Linked DNA regions of Homo sapiens: all the other regions are linked to region 2. The links are contacts of gene promoters, found by promoter capture Hi-C in human tissues and cell types (Jung and others, 2019). All regions are on one chromosome and are shown on one strand. The core of a region is centred on a gene start or on the middle of the fragment in contact, and the rest is flanking DNA. Distances in the headings are between cores, read along the strand shown. Region 1 overlaps GALNT12 (polypeptide N-acetylgalactosaminyltransferase 12). Region 2 holds the start of COL15A1 (collagen type XV alpha 1 chain). Region 3 overlaps GALNT12 (polypeptide N-acetylgalactosaminyltransferase 12).

The links. The method cuts DNA at HindIII sites, captures the fragments that hold promoters and counts their contacts. A contact is called where the count stands out against the background at its distance.
Region 1: a fragment that was not itself captured here is called in contact with the fragment with the promoter of COL15A1 in region 2 in 6 of the 25 tissues and cell types used here (H1 embryonic stem cells, adrenal gland, bladder and 3 more).
Region 3: a fragment that was not itself captured here is called in contact with the fragment with the promoter of COL15A1 in region 2 in 2 of the 25 tissues and cell types used here (mesendoderm cells and thymus).

The regions. Positions count from the first base shown.
Region 1 is chr9:98,846,820-98,849,891 of GRCh38, reverse strand. GALNT12 (polypeptide N-acetylgalactosaminyltransferase 12) reads right to left here. Exons shown (of 10, transcript NM_024642.5): 10 at 1-940. The coding sequence ends at 800. Among named protein-coding and RNA genes, the nearest start is that of GALNT12, 41 kb to the right of the region's middle. RefSeq lists an enhancer at 951-1,245. The HindIII fragment of the contact is 4,468 bases long and covers 1-3,072 here.
Region 2 is chr9:98,942,453-98,945,258 of GRCh38, reverse strand. COL15A1 (collagen type XV alpha 1 chain) reads right to left here and starts at 1,352. Exons shown (of 42, transcript NM_001855.5): 1 at 1,187-1,352; 2 at 1,009-1,097. The coding sequence starts at 1,197. It overlaps COL15A1-AS1 (COL15A1 antisense RNA 1), which reads left to right and starts at 607. Exons shown (of 1, transcript NR_198999.1): 1 at 607-2,806. The HindIII fragment of the contact is 13,688 bases long and covers 1-2,806 here.
Region 3 is chr9:98,822,193-98,825,223 of GRCh38, reverse strand. GALNT12 (polypeptide N-acetylgalactosaminyltransferase 12) reads right to left here. Exons shown (of 10, transcript NM_024642.5): 2 at 1,799-1,968. Among named protein-coding and RNA genes, the nearest start is that of GALNT12, 16 kb to the right of the region's middle. The HindIII fragment of the contact is 3,177 bases long and covers 1-2,985 here.

The sequences.
Region 1 (3,072 bases), core at 50-2,549, 95 kb after region 2:
CATATAGAACATTACATTTCTCCCTGACACTACCGTATCATAAAAATTAAAAATGATATAAACATGTTTTAAAGTCATAGTGGTAGAACCAGCCACACTACAGTGCGGCATTGTTAGAAGTTCGCTCTCAAGTTGACTCAGCTTAGTAAAGCAAATTGTTCTCTGAGATTTCAGCTTTGGTTAGTCCTCTTTGGCTGACATGAACATTATGGAGTGTTAACTGTGGTAGCAACACATAACCAAAAAGCATTCTTTTTAAAATACATCTAGAAGATCTCAATGACCTGAATAAATCAATACAATGTTCCTAGTGACAGTCTCTCTATACTGGGAAAACTTTAACCCCGCAGCTGAGGTATTATCAGTTAATGCAAAGTACGTTGCTTGAACCTGATTTCCACCCATGCAGATATCTTCGTACCTGGGAATTCTTGTAAATACCAAAATAAAATCTTTATCTTTTTTGCTAATGAGAGTAAAAGGCACGACTGTAAAATATACATCTTGATAGAAAAATATTATAAGGTTTTAATTTTCTAAATACCAAGGGTTAACATCTTACGATTACCCTTTGAAAATAGGGTATTTTGGAACATTTAAAAAGTTCTCAAAATAAGTACAAAGCTTATTCACATTTTTACTAAATCCAACACAACTTTCACAAATGGCAAAATGATTGCCTCTTCAAAGCAATGCAGCCTAGTTTTTGGTGGGTTCTGGTCACTGCTTAGCTAAGTCTTTGTTGGGCAGAGTCCTGGCTCCACAGTCTCCTTCGATGGGCTCCTTGATACACGAGGCTTCATAACATGCGCTCTTTGAAGAACCATTTCTGATGATCCGAGTTGGTGCAGTCTCGTAAGAGTGGAACGAAACTGTCACTCGACTCCTTCCTCGCAGCCTGGACACATTTCTTGGACTGTTCGTGAAATAAAGATCCATCCTACAAAAGATAACAGAATGACAGGCAAGTCATCAGAAAAGTCTCTTTTTCCTAAAGACATGTTTTAAAGAGATCAGGGTCTGATTTTTACCATTTCAGAAATATTTATTGAGGGGTAAGTGTCTTCCGTGTAACGCAGCAACTCAGGACTGTCCCGGGGACACAGCACCAGGCTTGTACAGGCTGCGTCCCGCTTGCCTCTCACAGGACCGATGGTGCCACCTGCTGGCTGCTCTGGGCATGTGTCATACCCTACATCTCCCTATTGCATTTGGCTTCCTTCAGGGAAATCAGGAACAAAGATCCTTTGTTTATCTCTTTCACTCCTCTTAGGTCAACTCATTCCGTGCAGGGTGATCTCTTTCTCTTAGGTATTTAAACAGAGTGTGGAAACTTGGCTGTAGTCCCAGCTCAGCCACAGACCAGATGGATGAGGAAGCCAGTCACTTGGCCTGAGCTACTCACCTGTCACACATCAGAGAATCAGTGGGTTATATGCCTTGTGCCAATTCCCAAACCCCAAAGACGATGGTCTTCTTTAATGACCTCCTGCTTCTCTCCTTTCTGCCAGCCCTTGCTCAATTATCTCAGCAAGTCTCTCTCTCAGGCCTGGTGTTTATCTTTTCCCTCTGCCTCTCTGTTATAAGCTGTATGCAACGAACTTAATCATGGCTGAGCAGCAAACAGGCAGAGTGAATAACAACATCAGTGAAAAACCTTTGTGATGTGCTGTTCACTAAATGGAACTTTTTTCATTCAAAAAAATCCAAACTCATGTTTTGTAGAATCCAAGAAATGACATTTCAGAGGTTTTTAGGCCTACATAAGAAAATACAAGGCTGGGCACAGTAGCTCACGCCTGTAATCGCAGCACTTTGAGAGGCTGAGGCAGGTGGATCACTTGAGGCCAAAGAGCTCAAGACCAGCCTGGCCAACATGGCAAAACTCCATCTCTACTAAAAATACAAAAAATTAGCTGGGCGTGGTGGCGGGCGCCTGTAGTCCCAGCTACTCAGGAGACTGAGACAGGAGAATCGCTTGAACCCAGGAGGCAGAGGTTGCAGTGAGCTGAGATTGCACCCCTGCACTCCAGCCTTGGTGGAGCAAGGCTCCGTCTCAAAAAAAAAAAAAAAAAAAAAAGATCCAGCCCTAAGAACTAAGCTTTCTATTATGGTCTAGTGAATATAAGTGGGGACATTTCCTTCAGAATTCACATATGTTTCTGTTCAATATATATTTGTTTTATATATATATATTTAGGGCATGACTGATGAAATATAATAAATCAAGCTGTATCCTTTTCACATATGAATCAAAGTATTAAGCGTCCTGAAGAAAGGTAAAAAATCCAATTCAGTATCCTTCTTCCCAGCCTCCTGAACAAACTTCCTTTTCCTTAAATGGTCACTGAAATTTAAGATAAAATTTTTGATATGTCAAACTGATTTTATTGTTTCTAGTGTCCACTACCATTCCTTGAGGGCTTACAATGGCTTCTGGTTGGGAGAAAGATGGGAAGAGGAGGACATTCAAGAAGATCAGAGACGTCTGGGGTGTGCAGAAGTATTTTTCCTTCTTATTTTCCTGTATTCAATAGGTAACACCATGGTGTGTGGCTTTTCTGGGCAGCCTGCAAATGTCATTGCTAGTGACAACATTTTTCTGCAGGAAAACATATTCCAGCTTTTAATCATCTTTAGAATAAACCCATTTATAAGCAGTATATTGGGAGTGAAAGCTGCCCAGGGAGATAAAAAACAATGAATTTTTTTCTTTCAAATGATTTTCTTTGGATTTATTCCCTCACATGCTTTTTAGTGAGTCAAAGGATATGATCGATTTACAAGTCCTGATGCAAGCTGACTGCAAGTGTGGTGGGGCCAGCACCCTCAGGTCTGAGGTAACCCTCAGTTTCAAATCAACTGTGACTATCCAGGGAGACTACTCTATCAGAGGTGTTTTCTTGGTTATAATACCACAAGCAACAACTAATCTCTATCGAGCTTTATAGTTTCCAAAGAATATTTCTGGCTATGCATCTAATCCTCAGTAAAGTAAGTCTGCTATTATTGCACCTTTTTTTTTTTTTTTTTTTGAGACGGAGTCTCGCTCTGTCTCCCAGGCTACAGTGC
Region 2 (2,806 bases), core at 103-2,602:
CAGCACCGTGCAATATACCCTTGTAAAAAACCACACATGACCACTCCCTGAATCTAAAATAAAAATAAAAATACTTGCATTGCTTTCCAACACATAGTTACTGCAAGAATCAAGCAGTAATTTCTATCACTTATTTTGTGCCTAGTATATACTGGAATCATGGGAAGCACATTATTTCTAATTTCTCTAATATTCACAACATTTCTAGGAAGGTAAAATGGTCTAATTAATCGCCTTTTTCAGATGGGGAAACTGAGGCACAGAGCGATGAAATCCATTGCCCAAGATCACTCAGCCAGCCACAGTTCAAACCCAGGCAGTCTGACCTTAACCGAGGCCCATTTTAACTTAGGTCTACTTTAACTTATATCTTACTATTCAGCCAACCGCCTGAGTTCTGCTGGAGAAACTGAGGCCCGGGGAACGGAAGGGATCAGATCTCTGGCTTCCAGGCCACAGCTCTTTCCACCACCGGTGGAGCCACTGCCCATGATAGACGTGACCGCTTAGGTAACTCAGAGCTGGGTTAAGCAACCGAGCAATTCAGTTCCGTTATTTCTTGAGCAGCAAAAGCCCCAGATGTCCCTCCCGGTGTTCATGCTTCGCACCTGTGTGCGGAGAGGCACCAGACCTGCCCTTACCAGAAGCCAGCCAGCACGCACAACCTAAGCTGCTGGCGCTGGGTGCGCTGAGGCTGTTGGCGCTGGCGCTGGCGCTGTTTCTGAAGTCCCTCTCTGCCTAAGATTGGAGGCTCCGCACCCAGCTCAGACATCTCGGGTGCCCAGACAACGCTCCAACCGCCCCAGCTGCCCAGGGATCCCATTCACAGCTATAACCCCTGCACTGCCAGGAGGTAGCCGCCCGCGGGACCGCCAGTGCGCACTGAGTGGCAAGACTCCCTTTTATGTCCAGGAATGAGGCACGCATCGCAGCCGCGTCCGCCGCCAAAACCGACTTCCCCCACGGGCGCGGAGGCAGCCGGTGCCACCCTCCGACCGGGTTGCTTACCTGTCGCACCGCGGGTCTGGGTGACAGCAGGGAGGGGCGTGGAGACCGAGAGCAGCATCAGCAGACACCAGCACTGCCCGTTGTTCCTCCTGCAAGATGTGCCCGAGGGAGAAAAGGTGAGGCGGGCAAGAGTATTGGAGGGGCCCGGGACGCGAGGAAGCAGAGAAGCGGGTCTTACCTTGGTGCCATCTCGCGGGTCTGCGGAGCCCCGGAAGGCGCGCGGCTAGTCGAGCAGAGCGTTGGAGCTTAGCGGAGGACGAAGGGTCGCTGAGCGCTGGCCGCCGCGCTCGCCCTTCCTGCAGGGAACAAAGGCGGCGCTCGGCAGCGGCGGCGGCGGGCAGAATCCCGGCTCCCGGCCCGCGCCCCGAGTCACCCGCGCTCTGAAACCCGACTCCGCCGCGCCCTGCGCTCCCCCGCGCGCTGCGCACTCACGCCCGGGGGATACCGGCCGCCCCGGCCGCCTCCCCACGCCCCTTTCCCCCTCGACGGACGTGCGCTCGCCTCTGCTGCCTCCACCCGCGGCTGCCTTATGTAACCTGCGAGGAAAGCCCCGCGCCCGCGTTCGTTGGGGCAAGCGGGATGGGCTCCCTCCCGCCCTTAAGTCTGTCCTGTCGGGGCTGACCCGCAAGAAAGCACTCTTTCACAGCCGCTGAGGGAATCCTCTCCACAGCCCAGGAAGGCTGGAATCAGTGATTTCCTTATATGATGGACAAGGAGACTGAGGCTCAGAGAGGTGGAGCGTATGTCCCAAAGTCCCAAGCTGCACTGAGCTCCTAGATGCTGTGACCCACCCTGCACGCCTGACACATGGACCGACTTGAATGCCCAGGAGTGGACCTGCCTGGGGGCCATAAGGGATACATACAACTAAATGCAGCAGAGATAATCCTAATAAAAGTTTTTAATGTACTGGATTCCAGGGCTTTCCTCCCTATGTATACCTTGCCTGCCCCCTTCATCAGAATGTAAGCTCCAGGAGGGCTTATCTGTGCTTTGTTCCCTGCCTAAAACAGCTCAGGTAGTAGGAGATGCCAATAAACGCTGGATGAATGAAGGAGCACAGTCTTGGGTGAGGCATCACACCAGGCCCTGTGATGAGATGTGGGGGTCATGAACCAGGCTCTGCCTCCGAAAGCCCTCAGTGGGAGTGAGGCGGTTCAGGGCAGACTAACCCATCTGTGCAGAGCTTATCGCAGGGCACTGGGTAAACCCTCAATGGTCGCTTTTTATTAAGATTACCACCCGGCACATAGTGTGAGATCTTGGAGTGAGAAGAGGCACCGCTGAAGTTGGCTGAGACCTGGACAGCTCTGAAGCCAGGTAAACACTAGAAACCTCTCTTCCTGAAGCACCAAGTAGCCACAGTGGGCCGTGGCTCTGTGGTCAGTTCCTGTGTTTGATTCAGTTCCACTCTAGAGGATGGGTCACCTCTTGCCAAGTGAGTTAGCCTTGCAGAGGAGATGGCATGGGAATGGATATAAGCAACTAATGCTTACTTGGTGTGGATTATGTCCCAAGCCCTCTGCTAAATGCTTTAGCTGTGTTATCTCATTTAATACCCACAACAGCCATGGAAAGGTGATACTGTCATGATCCCCATTTCATAGATAAGAAAGCTGAGGTTCAAAACATTCCAAGGCTAATGAATGGCAGATGCAACACCCATGCTCCTCCCCACTCAGCCATGCTGCCTGCCAGTAAGCAAGAAGATTAGACTCACTCTCCACCCTCAAGAGCAAAATCGCAGTGGAGACACAGAGCACTCGGATATGAAAGGGTTCATGCCAGCCTGGGCGGT
Region 3 (3,031 bases), core at 148-2,647, 120 kb after region 2:
GATTAATATATTTGTGAAATGCTGTTTTTTTCATTTTGCAACTTTTTAAACATTTAAACATTATAAAAATAGAAGTTATCATCTAACAAGAGCTCACTAAATGCCAAGCACCTACCCAGCACATTACCCTCCTCATCTCATTCAATGCTCACGATGATCCTACAAGGTAGAAGCTATCATTATTCCCATTTTATAGAGGCTGAAGCCAAGTTTGAAACTGGTTAGGGTCATTGCTCAAAGTTGTCTAGTCGCTAGGTGTTGGGGGAGGGGGATTCAAGCCCGTGCAGTGTGGCCCAGAACCAATGTCCACACGGAGAGATTTAAAACGACCCTGGGGGGAAACGGAAAAAGGAAATGCAGATGAGCACCTACTATGTGCCGGCTGCTACATGAGGTTCTGTCCTATACATGATCCCATTTATTCCCCACTATAATTCTCTTGAGATAGGTGTGGACAGACCCATTCACAGGTGAGAAACTGAGGCTCAGAAAAGACAAGCAACTCGCCCAAGGTGCCATAACTGGATCATCGTCTCAGACCCAGGTGCCCTGACCCCAGAACCCAATGCCTTCTAGGCTATAGTCAGCACCAAACCCCAGCCTGGCTTACCCCAGCCTGGCTTACACGCTGTCACAGACACTGCTCCTTGTGCCTTAAACCCATTCTCCCTGTGACCTGTAACTGAACACACAGCCAGCAGGATAAAGGCCACAGCTCCCAGCCTCCCTTGCAGCTACACGTGGCCAGGCAACCACGCTCTGCTCAATGGGATGTGTGGAGAACTTCCAAGCAGTGCCCTCGGGAGGAAGGGTGTGGCTCTCCTTCCCCTTTAAGTCTTCTGGTTGACCAGAGTGAGTAGGAGGTGAAAAACCAGCCTGGTCCATGAGGACCAAGGCAGCAGAGCACCCTAGAGAAGGTGGGAACAGGTGCAGAAGGAGCTGAGGCCCCATCCACCAAGGAGCCACCACACCCATTCTAGACTAGCACACCAGATTTGTGATGTGAGAAGCCTGTTTCTATCTTGTGTGAGTCACTATTGAGTCTGTGAAAACAGCCCAATGCACACACCTATTAGAACACACAGAGGCCAGTTTTGAAGTCAGAGCAAGTGCAGCATCTGAGGCAGCAGATGCCCCATCAGCAGGGGTTGCTTCCCTTTGAGACAGGCTGTAGTGACTAAGCCCACAGCTCTACCTGCTGTTACAGACTTGACACTTGTCCTTGGTTAAGCTTAGCTGCTCTCACTTCAGCTAGGCCCCAAGGATTCACGGGCTGATGCTACTCCGTTGGCACTGCCAGTCCCAGCCAAGCCAAGGCTCTGCTGCATGTGGGCACCACAGAGGCCCCTCCACCCTCCTTGCCTCCATCCTCACCCAGCCCCTCCCCTGCCATTGGCCATTCCCCGCACAGCTGGCTCAGTGAGCTCCTCAGAGGGACCTGGACCTTGCTGTCTGCAAAGCTCCCCATCAAGCTTGCACTTAAGCCTCAACCCCTTATGGTGGCCTCCAAGGCCCTTCCAGATCTGGCCCTGCCCATCCTGCAACCTCACCTCCTACATCACCTCCACTGGCCAATGAAATGAACAGTCCCAGAAACTGCCAAGAGAATGCCCTGCTCCTTCCAGTTTCCCACGCCTACTGTTTCTGGGCTACTATCCCTGAGGTCTTCCTTGGGTACAGGAGGATACAGGAAGCCCATCCTTACTGGGCCTACTTTAGCCCTCCTGCATCCCACTCTCACCTCCCAGACACTGCTACAGAAGGACAGGCTCTTCCCAGAGCCCTGGCCGGGACTCACCTCTATCACTGTAGTCATCTACAAGGATCACTTCTTCTAGCAGGATATCCGGGGATGTCTCAAGGACACTGTAAACTGTCCGAAGGAGAGTTGACCAGGCTTCATTATAAAATGCTATGATAACAGATGTCCTGGGCAAATTATCATAATCATATTTCTTCTCTTTGCACCTGCAAATACAGCGGAACTTCAGGAACTCAGGATCTAGCCCAGGCTGGCACTGGGGATGGAGTGACAAAGGGGACATAGGTCATGGTCCCCTGCGGAAGGGGACATAATCCACTGAAGGATCTTCCAGAGCTCCCCTTGTGGCACTAGGAGCCCCAGCAGACTCCAAGAAAGGTCCTAACCATGGCACCCACCTAGCTTTTACTGTGGGATATTGTTTTAAGCTGTCAAGCAACTTTTTGATTTGAGCAACATACAAACGAGACAGAATCAGAAGGAAGGGAACTGGCACGTCTTCCTTCCCCATCGCCCTCCTTTCTGTCTACTCTGCCCCAGTCTCACTCCCAGGCCTTTGCTCAGACTGTTCCCTCTGCCTGGAATGCCCCTTCCTCCCTTCTGTACTTGGCAAGCTCCCAGCTCAGGCCTGTTCTCCTTTGTGAAACGCCTGGGACCACGTATCTTGGGCAGTTGCTGTCTCCTCAATGCTCCTCCAGCACCCGGCCCACCTCCATCTCAGCATGCACCACTGACAGTATTCTGAGTCCTCATGTACCACTGTACCACTCCCTACCCTCTCCCAGCATCCAATACTGTCTAGGCTTAGCAAAGGTGGTGTCCCAAATGCATAAACTAGAATTGTGGCTAGGACCTACAGACACTCCAGGAAGGACTCTACAGAGGACATTGGTTACCTCCCCCAAATCCCCGCTGCCACCTGCCCCCCAAGATGTGGTAGTCATGTGGTGGGGTGGGGCTGAGCCCACCCAACTCCAGCAGTGGGCCTGACTGGCAGTGATTAGAACCAATAAGCTCCCTCTTTGTTTAGCAATTTGCCGTCACTTTGAACTGAAGGTTCCCTGGTTGACACAGAATTCTATCCTGAGTGACATGACAAATTCCCAGTGTCACGGGACTGACTAAGGGGCAGTGCCTGGAGACTATCAGTGGGAAGTAGCTGATGGGAAGGTGGGAGAGTGAAACCACAGGGATACCAGAAGGGACAAAGTTTGAATGCTGGGGGCTGGCCAAGGCTAGGCCAAGAGATCAGCTAGATACTCAAGAAGG